2 separate regions of the Homo sapiens genome follow, and region 1 is linked to region 2. The links are contacts of gene promoters, found by promoter capture Hi-C in human tissues and cell types (Jung and others, 2019). All regions are on one chromosome and are shown on one strand. The core of a region is centred on a gene start or on the middle of the fragment in contact, and the rest is flanking DNA. Distances in the headings are between cores, read along the strand shown. Region 1 overlaps POP1 (POP1 ribonuclease P/MRP subunit). Region 2 holds the start of COX6C (cytochrome c oxidase subunit 6C).

What was found. Contacts are between HindIII fragments. The study calls those that stand out against the background at their distance.
Region 1: a contact is called between a fragment that was not itself captured here and the fragment with the promoter of COX6C in region 2, in 1 of the 25 tissues and cell types used here (dorsolateral prefrontal cortex).

The regions. Positions count from the first base shown.
Region 1 is chr8:98,155,542-98,160,565 of GRCh38, reverse strand. It overlaps POP1 (POP1 ribonuclease P/MRP subunit), which reads right to left. Exons shown (of 16, transcript NM_001145860.2): 15 at 4,154-4,516; 16 at 731-2,949. The coding sequence ends at 2,295. Among named protein-coding and RNA genes, the nearest start is that of NIPAL2-AS1, 18 kb to the left of the region's middle. The HindIII fragment of the contact is 5,544 bases long and covers 31-5,024 here.
Region 2 is chr8:99,891,002-99,895,734 of GRCh38, reverse strand. COX6C (cytochrome c oxidase subunit 6C) reads left to right here and starts at 2,028. Exons shown (of 4, transcript NM_004374.4): 1 at 2,028-2,096; 2 at 3,683-3,827. The coding sequence starts at 3,714. RefSeq lists a silencer at 2,247-2,416 and enhancers at 1,890-2,537, 2,538-3,186. The HindIII fragment of the contact is 7,152 bases long and covers 329-4,733 here.

The DNA of each region.
Region 1 (5,024 bases), core at 1,553-4,052, 1.7 Mb after region 2:
GCTTCAAGAACCCTAAAAGCATTGCTCCCTCAACAAGAGGACAAGGGCCACATTGCACTTATTTGGTAGCTATGTAGCTCTAGTACAGCATGGCAGGCACTTGGAAGGATCAAGATCAACACGCTAATCAATTCAACTGCCAGAAAGTAAGCCATTCCCCTATCAGTCTTTTTCATAAGGAACATGGATTCTTTACTGCCTCTGCAGAGTCTGTTAGTTTTTCAACGTATCTTCTGTGAAACTAGTGTTCTCTGGACAATAGGTATGCAAAAACCAAAAAAGGTACGTGTGTGGGAGTCTGAAAGACAGATTTCTTTCCTAAAGAGCTTTGCAGAGCTTTGACTCTGCAAGTATTCATTGTGAATCATAATAGGAGGATACCATATATAGCTTTTCCCATATTTATTTAGCCATAAAATACTTTTCTCCAGGAACAGCTGCAGGGACTAGTACTCCCAGGAATACATTTTGGGAAATGCTAATCTATCTTTCTGGTGCGCAGCTCTTTGACCTACCACCCACCAGGCAGAGTGGCTGCAAACGTGCCCTGTCCCCTATAATGAGGGCGGGGCAGCAGGCCCTAGGCAGGGCTGTACAGAATGAGGTTAGGTGACCACGCAGCACACTCAGACTTCTGTCATCGAGTGAGCTCAGCCACAAATGAGGTGACTGAGAGCCCAGAAAACAAATAAGGAATGGTCCAATAAATATAAATATTCACAACTGAACATCAGGTGACATTTTCATTTATTCTGTTTACAGATGCCACTTAGTTACACTGTTTTTTTTTTTTCAGTCTCATCTGGGTTGGATCCAAAGACATTCAGAGGCATGGTAAGAGGCAAAGCATCAGACATCTCATTGGTGGCAGGTACTTCCTGACTACTGTACCACCTGCTGTATCCTTCCCCACCTCATCACCCCCAAAGCCATTTAGTGCCAAATGCTACAGTAAAAACCCAATGCATTTACATAAAATAATGCCTAACTGCATATTTACATTTTTTAGAAAAAAAATCCCATTAAGCTCTTCTAGAAAGTTATGGCAGGAAAGGTAAGGACCAAGGCTATGAGCAAGCCATATGTGGAAACTTAAAGTAGATGAGCACTGAGTTTCTCCATAGTTGGAAAAAAGCCACACTGAGCCCACTCTTCCTGTGAGGCAAGATGAGACCTTCCTTTTATACCCTGTTGAGAATCTCAGGTGGACAACGTGACTGCATGAGTGTTGAAAGGCAGCTTGCCGGCTTAGTTATCACCTTGCAGAGGTAGCTATGCACTACACAGCCACACTGCCCAAAGCGCGCTACTAAGAACACTGGTCCTACAAAGGGCTCCTTGTAAGAGAACTTTAGGAATCACAAGTATTTAGAAAATACTATACACTATCATTTCCTTCCTAGAGATCCGCAATGCACATTATCACATGGAAGTTTCCAGAAGTTCTTTCATAAAGAAATGCTTAACTTTATTTAACCTAGAGTTTCCATATCAACCTGACCTTGGAATCTCTTACTTTTTTAGGTGACACATATCATAGAACATATTCTGAGAAATGCTCCTCTATGGCTTTGAGAAAATCTTTGCAGAAACAAAATAATAATAATTTTTTACTTAAAAAAATTAAGTAACTAGTAGGATCAAGTGTTGGTCAACAACAAAGAGATCAAAGAGTCAGGAAGTCCACGTCATAGACCCCCACTTTCTAATTCCAGCCTAGCACTGACGCCATAAACTGTGCCTGCCTGAAAACAGGCAGAAATCAGTTGTCCATGATTTCTCTCTTTAAGGCTTGAGTTGTTCGGCATGGAAATCACAGTACAGAATTGAATGAGGTCCATCAGGAGCCCATATTTCATGTACAGAGGCCAAGCGTCTTCTCTTGTCTTCTGCTATAACAGTGAAATCATTAAACATCTATTGTTGCTTATCACATGACTATGAGGTTTTTCAAATAGACCTGACAAGCCCTTTGTTTCTAACAAAAAAAGGGGATGATAACTCGTAGAGCTTCTCATTATTTTCAGCCACAACTACACAGACCAAGAGATCATAATACAAAGCTTTTGGCCAAATAATTTAAAAGTATTACAGCAAGGACAGGGAAAGATGAAAATCAATGACATTACTGGAATGATGTAAACATTTCATCATCTGCATAATACATAATTTTTTATTCTTGTTTCCAGGGAGTTTCACATGATATTTTAAAGCAGAAGCAGATTCTCCACATGTAGAACTTGGCAGACAATAATAACGTATTATCTATGCCCTGCTGGGATACAAGCACGCATTCACACCTCAATAGCAATCCTCGCAAATCGATACTGCAGAGAGGCGGGAGGCCTCAGTAGCACTAAGCCCCTCTGCGCTGCAGGCTGGCTGGACAGCATATCCAGCAAGCCTGTCAAGCTAACAAACCCCAGGGCTTCTCCACAGCCAACAGCCATGGAAAAATCTCCCTGAGTCACAAAGCCTAGGAGAGTTCTGGAGCAGTGCAACGTCACACGCGGCAGAGGGCCTGACCACAGCCCTAGAGTCAGAGCTTCCTGCCCAGCCACGGGCTCTTCCCCCGCCGGGCCATCAGAAGAGGCACGTCCTGGCTTCTGCCTCTTCTCCCTTTTCTTCTTCTCTTTCTGTTTCAGGATCTTGCTCCTGAATGGGTCACTGTGTTTGGATTCCTGGGGCCCACAGTAATGCCAGTCCTCATGGAGCTGGAGGAAGTCCTCCTTGGCTGGGACACAGATCATGGTGTGAGGCTCGGGGCTGCCCTTGCTGAGCAGGGACAGGCTGACCCAAACCAGGGCCCTGGGGAAGTGGCCCAAGATGGACAGGCAAGCCTCTCTGGTCAATCCTTGCTGGCCTCTGCCGGGAGCTCGCCGGCCTCCCCGACTATCCTCAGAACTGGGCCCACACCAGGCTGACAGTTGCTTCAGTAATTTTCTACTCCTACATGAAGTTGGAGACATACGTTTGAGGATATTTTGTTCCAGAAAAAAATATGCAATCAGAAGATTAGACACTGCTAGAATTAATTTGATTCTTTTATACTATATAAGAATCAAAACTACAATTTTTTAAAAATTAGAAATACACTGTAGTACATTTTAGTACTTATATTTTTCTTTTTATGTGTTTGCCATTCTGAAACTCAGGGACTAAAGATTTAAGAAGTTGAAGGCAGGGAAAACAAGACAGTGAGATAGAATCTAGGATTGTAATCACAGTGAGGGTGAAAATAAAGAGCCACTAAGATTTCAATGAGTAAAGGAACTGTAAGGGACTGTTACATGTAAAGTAAGAAAGAATGATAGGAAATTATGAGGCTACTATACGGAAAAGTAAGCACAAGGCTAGAGGGATAAGCACTTTTTAAAAATCAAAGCACAGGCCGGGCGCAGTGGCTCACACCTGTAATCCTAGCACTTTGGGAGGCTGAGGTGGGCGGGTCACCTGAGGTCAGGAGTTCGAGACCAGCCTGGCCAACATGGTGAAAATTAGCCAGGCGTGGTGGCATGTACCTGTAGTCCCAGCTACTTGGGAGGCTGAGGCAGGAGAATCGCTTGAACCCAGGAGGCCGAGGTTGCAGTGAGCCAAGATCACACCTCTGCACTCCCGCCTGGGTGACAGAGCAAGACTCCATCTCAAAAAAAAAAAAAAAAAAAATCAGAGCAAAGCACAGAATGCAGGGTCACTGATGAGCAGAACCTGGCCCACACCAATACTGAGAGGAGAACATAGTGTATCCGGTAGCCTCTCTGGCTAGGACTATATTACATCTAATGGGTTGCTGCTCTAACACAAATCCATATAATTCAAAAGGAACTAGAAGAAATCTAATTTGGTAATTTAAAGCAAAGAATCCTTGCTCAAACTGCATAAAATATGTCAGAAAAAAAACTGCCTTGGCTTGGATCTATTGATGACAATATTGTAAATCATTTCATCAATTAGCATCATGCCTTACATCAAATATTATTAAGCTGTTTCCCTGAGCCCTCTATGAAATATAAAAGACTGGCTTTCCCTTCCAGAAAGCCTATAAATTCACTTGGATTTTGCATAAACAAACAGTGATAACGCTTACATCCTGTAGCCTCTTCAATATTAAAATAAATAATCCAAAATGTACCCAGAAGTCACCGACACTTACCTGAGAACGCAGAGGTGACTCCCTGTGGCAGCAACATGGTTTTCACTGGCCTCCTGGTCTGTGATCCTCTCAGGCCCTGCCGATTCTTGACACCCTGCATCCATTACCTCCTCTGCCTCCCTGGGGTGCTCTATGGATGTGCCCACTTCATCAGATGGCTGATGAGTTTTTTTAGGCATGGGAGCACAAGGCACCTCAGATCTTCTTAGGTCACTCTCCTTACCATTTGGAGATGAAGCTACAGAAGGTTCTTCGTAAGCCTGGACTCTTGACTCCCAGTCTTGAGTTAACTGCTCCCAGGGACAGCAGAAAGGTGCCAGAGTGCCAAGCTTAACGTAGTTGGGCCGTTTTGCAGGAGGGCGTCTAAAGAAAAACATACAGGAGAACCAATGTTGAACAATTTAGGATTGGAAAACTAAAATAATTATAACCATTATAATGCATCTCTATTTTAAAACACACACACACACACACACACACACACACACACACACACACACACAAAAGCTTTCCAAGAAACATATGATAAAGAATAATAGGCTGGGCTCAGTGGCTCATGCCTGTAATCCCAGCACTTTAGGAGGCCAAGGCAGGCGATCACCTGAGGTCAGGAGTTCGAGACCAGCCTGGCCAACATGGTGAAAGCTCTACTAAAAATACAAAAATTAGCCGGGCATGGTGGAGGGTGCCTATAATCCCAACTACTGGGAGGCTGAGGCAGACGAATCACTTAAACCCAGGAGGCAGAGGTTGCAGTGAGCTGAGATCACACCATTGCACTCCAGCCTGGGCAACAGAGTGAGACTCCGTCTCAGAAAATAATAATAATAGGCCAGGCATGGTGGCTCATGCTTGTAATCCCAGCACTTTG
Region 2 (4,733 bases), core at 779-3,278:
GCCTGCAACTCTTGGGCTCAAGTGATCCTCCAGCCTCAGCCTCCTGAGTAGCTGGGACTATAGGCATAAATCACACTATGCCCGGCTAAGTTTTAAAGTTTTTTATGGAGATGGTGGTCTATGTTGCTCAGGTTGGTCTCCAACACCTGGGCTCAAGTAATCTGCCTTCCTTGGCCTCCCAAAGTGCTGGGATTACAGGTGTGAGCCACCACACCCAGTCTGGAATAAGATTTGACTGTTGTAGAATCACATGGCTAGAAGTGATGAAGGATTGATTAAGCACTGCTACTAAAAGAAAGATTGAAGGAATGCAGGACAGGCAAAAGAACACAGGGAGGAATGCATATTCAGAATGTCTGTTTGTCAAGCACTGTATAGGTTGAACACCCTTAATCTGAAAATCCAAAATCCAAAACGCTCCAAAATCCAAAACTTTTTGAGCACTGATGTGATGCTCAAGGAAATGCTCAGTGGAGCATTTTGGATTTCAGATTTTCAGATTGGGATGCTCAACTGGCATGTATTCTGCAAATACTCAAAAATCTGAAAAAATCCAAAATCTGAAACACTTCTGGTCTCAAATATTTCAGATAAGGGATACTCAAGCTGCATATACATTATCCCATTTAATTTACATCACAACCCAACAAAATGGGTACTATTTTTAGAGGAGAAAGCAGACTTAGAAAGATGAAGAAATTTGCCGCTACAAGTTGATGAGCTGGGACTCAAATCCAGGTCTGTTCGGCTCTAGAACAGAACCTATATGTAACATGTCTCTCTTCATCTATCGCTCAGGTTTTATTCACGTGTCACCCTCAGTCATTCACTATGGTTCACTGGATAGCTAGGGAAGCACAGAACAAACACTCAGTATTTCACTCAGGTCAGGCTCTGTGCCCTGAGTGTGCCTGTCTTTGCCATGTTCTCCCAGCCAATGTTTTCTCTCCAATTTCTCCAGTTTTCCAGGCTTTCCATTAGACTGAAACTCAGCTCTGCTTCCATCTCTTCCACGTATTGTCTGAAGCTTTCCCTGATGGTTTCACATACACTAATCCCTGTGAACTCTTAAGTTCACCACTTCTTCTCTGGGGGTGGGGATGGAAAGAGAATAGAAACAAATTACTCTCTGGACAAATTCCATGCAAAGATTTTCAGCTGGGTAGACCCTTGATAAGAGGCCTGAAAAACGTTGGTAAAGTCCAAACCTACTTTTGAACCTCAATTGAGCACCTTTCTTTGTGGCCAGGTTTCACCCTCCAGAGTGTTGGTTAATAGGTTGAGGACAAAGACTCCCTGATCAGAATGAGACTCCCCGAAGATCTGTCCTCTTGTTTAGCAGAATCTGGCACATAGTAGGTACTCAGTGTATATATCGACTCAATATCATGCATCTGTTGTGTCCCAGCTACCTTCCACAGGGCTTGATGGGTTGACTTAAATAATGCTTTTAAAATTCAGGTTATTTCAATACAAACAGCCTGGCATCATTAAGGCACAAGAGCCTCACCCTTCTACACCACTTTCCACGAACTTCCAGTTGCCTTCCTTCAAAATCCTTGTTTTCTTAAGAAACCCACAAAAATACCGCCCCTCTATCAAAACGTCCTCAGCTTTGCCAGGTAGAGAATTGCTTCTGCAGTAGCTGGGCCACGTCTCTGTGGTAGTGCCCACTGCATGGGATCGGTATTAATCTGTTTGTCTTTTTCATCTTCTGGGCTGTGAGCTCCTAGAAGTCAGCTTTTTCACTTTTACCCAAGCCAAACGGTTATTCGCGTAAGGTTGGTTATAATTAAAATGTCGGTTTGTGCACATGGTTTGGGACTCTGTGTATGAGTACGACTAATATCTTCAATTTACTAAGAAGATAAAGAGGTCGATAAATAAGGAGGTCAAGCCCGTTTTGCAAGGTCACACAGGAAAGAAGCAGACCACGAAATGAACTTCGGCTGTCACCTGCGGTGGGCGCACTAGAGGTCTTTTGAACTCCTTCGGCTACCGTCGCCGCGTTCTCGCTGTGCACTCTTATTCTGCGCCTGCGCGCGGCTACAGCACGGTTCGTTTTTCCTTTAGTCAGGAAGGACGTTGGTGTTGAGGTGAGTCCGGTCCCTTTTGCATCCCTACCCCGACACTGCGGGTTGTCACAACGGCACCCTCCCGCTTTCTCTCTGCCTCGGATTTAGTCGTGACTGTGTGTCTCCGCCGTGGTGCAGCTTCAGGCCTCTCCCGCATCTACTCTCTCACGCTTCCGCTGCGGCCTGAGGGAGGGCGGCGGGCGGACCACGGACCGGGGTGGGTTGCGACGGCCCCACCGAAGCCGGGTGGGCTGCGGGACCCTCGAGAACCCAGCTGGCTTCGGAGTGAGCTGGCCCGGGGCTGGTACCCGCTGCGCTTTTTCACAGCCATTGTGACCTTGGTGAGGTCATTTGACCTATCTGGCCCCGGTGTTTCTCCCGTGAGAAAAGGGGTGGTGGTTTCTAATGCAGCTGGTCGTGAGGCGCAAGGGTTAGTGTAGGCGAAGCAGCTGGCAGCGTCGCTCGCTGTGTGGCAGCGTTTTAAATTAGAGCTGGAAAACTGGAGGAGGGTCACCGTACCTGCCGCAGGAGGGGAAGGATGGGCTTCCTGCAACCTCCCTTGCCCCACGGCTTCCCATCCTACCCCCGGCCGCGTTAGCTGAAGGCCAGCAGGGACGCAAAAGTTTTTAGGCCCCTTAGGTCTTTAGGTGAGGCTGGGCAAAGGAGCAGTTAGGGAATTTGGGCCCTCATGGTATTTGCCGCGTTCCCGTCCAGGTTTTAATGGTATACCGTGTGACCGTGGAAAACACCTGCCTCATGATCTGACAGGGTTGTCGCGAAGGTTTAACGAGTGGACAGAAAATTTTTAGAAGAGAAAGTGTTGCATAAATGGGTTTGCAATCGTTAATTACCAATGCGGAGCTACTGCTTATTTTTCTTGTTGTTGGAAAGATTTTTGTTGCCTTTGCTCGTCCATTACTAGTGTGCCGCAGTTTGTCGCGTTTATTTAGGGTGGTCGCTCAGTATATGGGGGGCGGGGGGAAGATGAAACAGGCTAAGCCAAGAGACAGCTTAGGCTTTGTGGGAGGAATCCATCCACTGTCGTGCTGTGCCTCTCTAGGTAGTAAAATGTACTATGCATGAGAATTCCTTTTGATATCTTTTCTGAGTTTTTCTTTTATTATTTTACCCGAGAAAGGGAAAAAAAGCTCAGAGTAGTGAGAGCTACATGAGGTATGCAGGACGCAGAGACCTGAGTATTGGACTTCAGTGCCGCCCCTCACCCATGTCTCAACCCAAATCTTATTCCTGAATTTGTGATATAAAGGACAGCGTTTAGTCAGTCAATAGCTTATGTTATTTTAATGTAAATTTTTGATAAACAGTTTAGGAATTGCCTCTCATTTTTTCTTAACTCACTTGTAGGCCGGAATCCCAGCACTTTGGGAGGACGAGGTAGGATGATCACTTGAGGGCAGGAGTTTAAGACCAGCCTGGGGAGCATAGCTAGACCCTGTTTCTGCCAAAAAAGAAAAACATTCATTTGTAACTGCTGCTAATCGGAGTGTATATTCAGGGCAGCTCCAATCAATGCTTCCAGGTGGCCATTCTCAAGTTTGTGGCTTAAATAAACTCTGTACTTAATCATATTTTCTGAATCTCTTAAGGTTAGCATACGTATCAAGGACAGTAACTACCATGGCTCCCGAAGTTTTGCCAAAACCTCGGATGCGTGGCCTTCTGGCCAGGCGTCTGCGAAATCATATGGCTGTAGCATTCGTGCTATCCCTGGGGGTTGCAGCTTTGTATAAGGTATGTATGTTTTTTACTTTGTGCCGAAGGTCATAAAGTATGTGTTTTTGGTTGAAAAATCTTTTAAAGAAACTCCCCCTTGTAATGTGTTTCTTTCTAACCCTTTCTGCACTCACCTCAGTGTGACAGGAACTATAGCTTGTCCTCCATCTTTAAATGAAGCTTGTTAGTTTGCTGGAATGCCGTAACAAAGAACCACAGACTGGGTGCCTTAAATTTGCTCGCAGTTCTGGAGGCTAGAAATCTGTTGGCAGGGTTGATATCTTCTGAGGCCTCTGTTGGCTTGTAGATGGCTCCCTTTGTCTTCACAGGGTCCTCTGTGGGCATATATCTGTAGCTGAACTTCTTTCCCTTTCTTTTCCTTTACCTTTCCTTCCTTTCCTTTTTCTGCCCTTCTTTTCATTTTCTTTCCTTCTTTCCTTTTTCTTTCTTTGAAACAGGGTCTTACTCTGTCTCCCGGTACCTGGGACTGCAGGTACACACCACCGGAACTGGCTAATTTTTATATTTTTTGTAGAGATGAGGTTTCAGAGATGGCCACGTTGTTCAGGCTGGTCTTGAACTCCTGGGCTCAAGGGATTCACCTGCCTTGGCCTGCTAAAGTGCTGGGATTACAGGCATGAGCCACCACACCTGGCCTGCTGAATTTCTTAAAAGAACATCACTCATATTGGATTAGGGCCCACCCTAAAGGCCTCATTTTAACTTAGTTATAAAGCCCTTATTTCCAAAAAACGTTTAGATTCTGAGGTACTGAGAGTTAGGACTTAAACACATGAGTTTTGGTCAAACACAATTCAACCCATTACAGAAGCTAGTATGCAGAGGGGCTGGGAAGGCAGCATAGCTGCCCCTCTATCCATGGGGAATTGGTTCAGGAGCCCTGACGATATTTTAAATCATCTC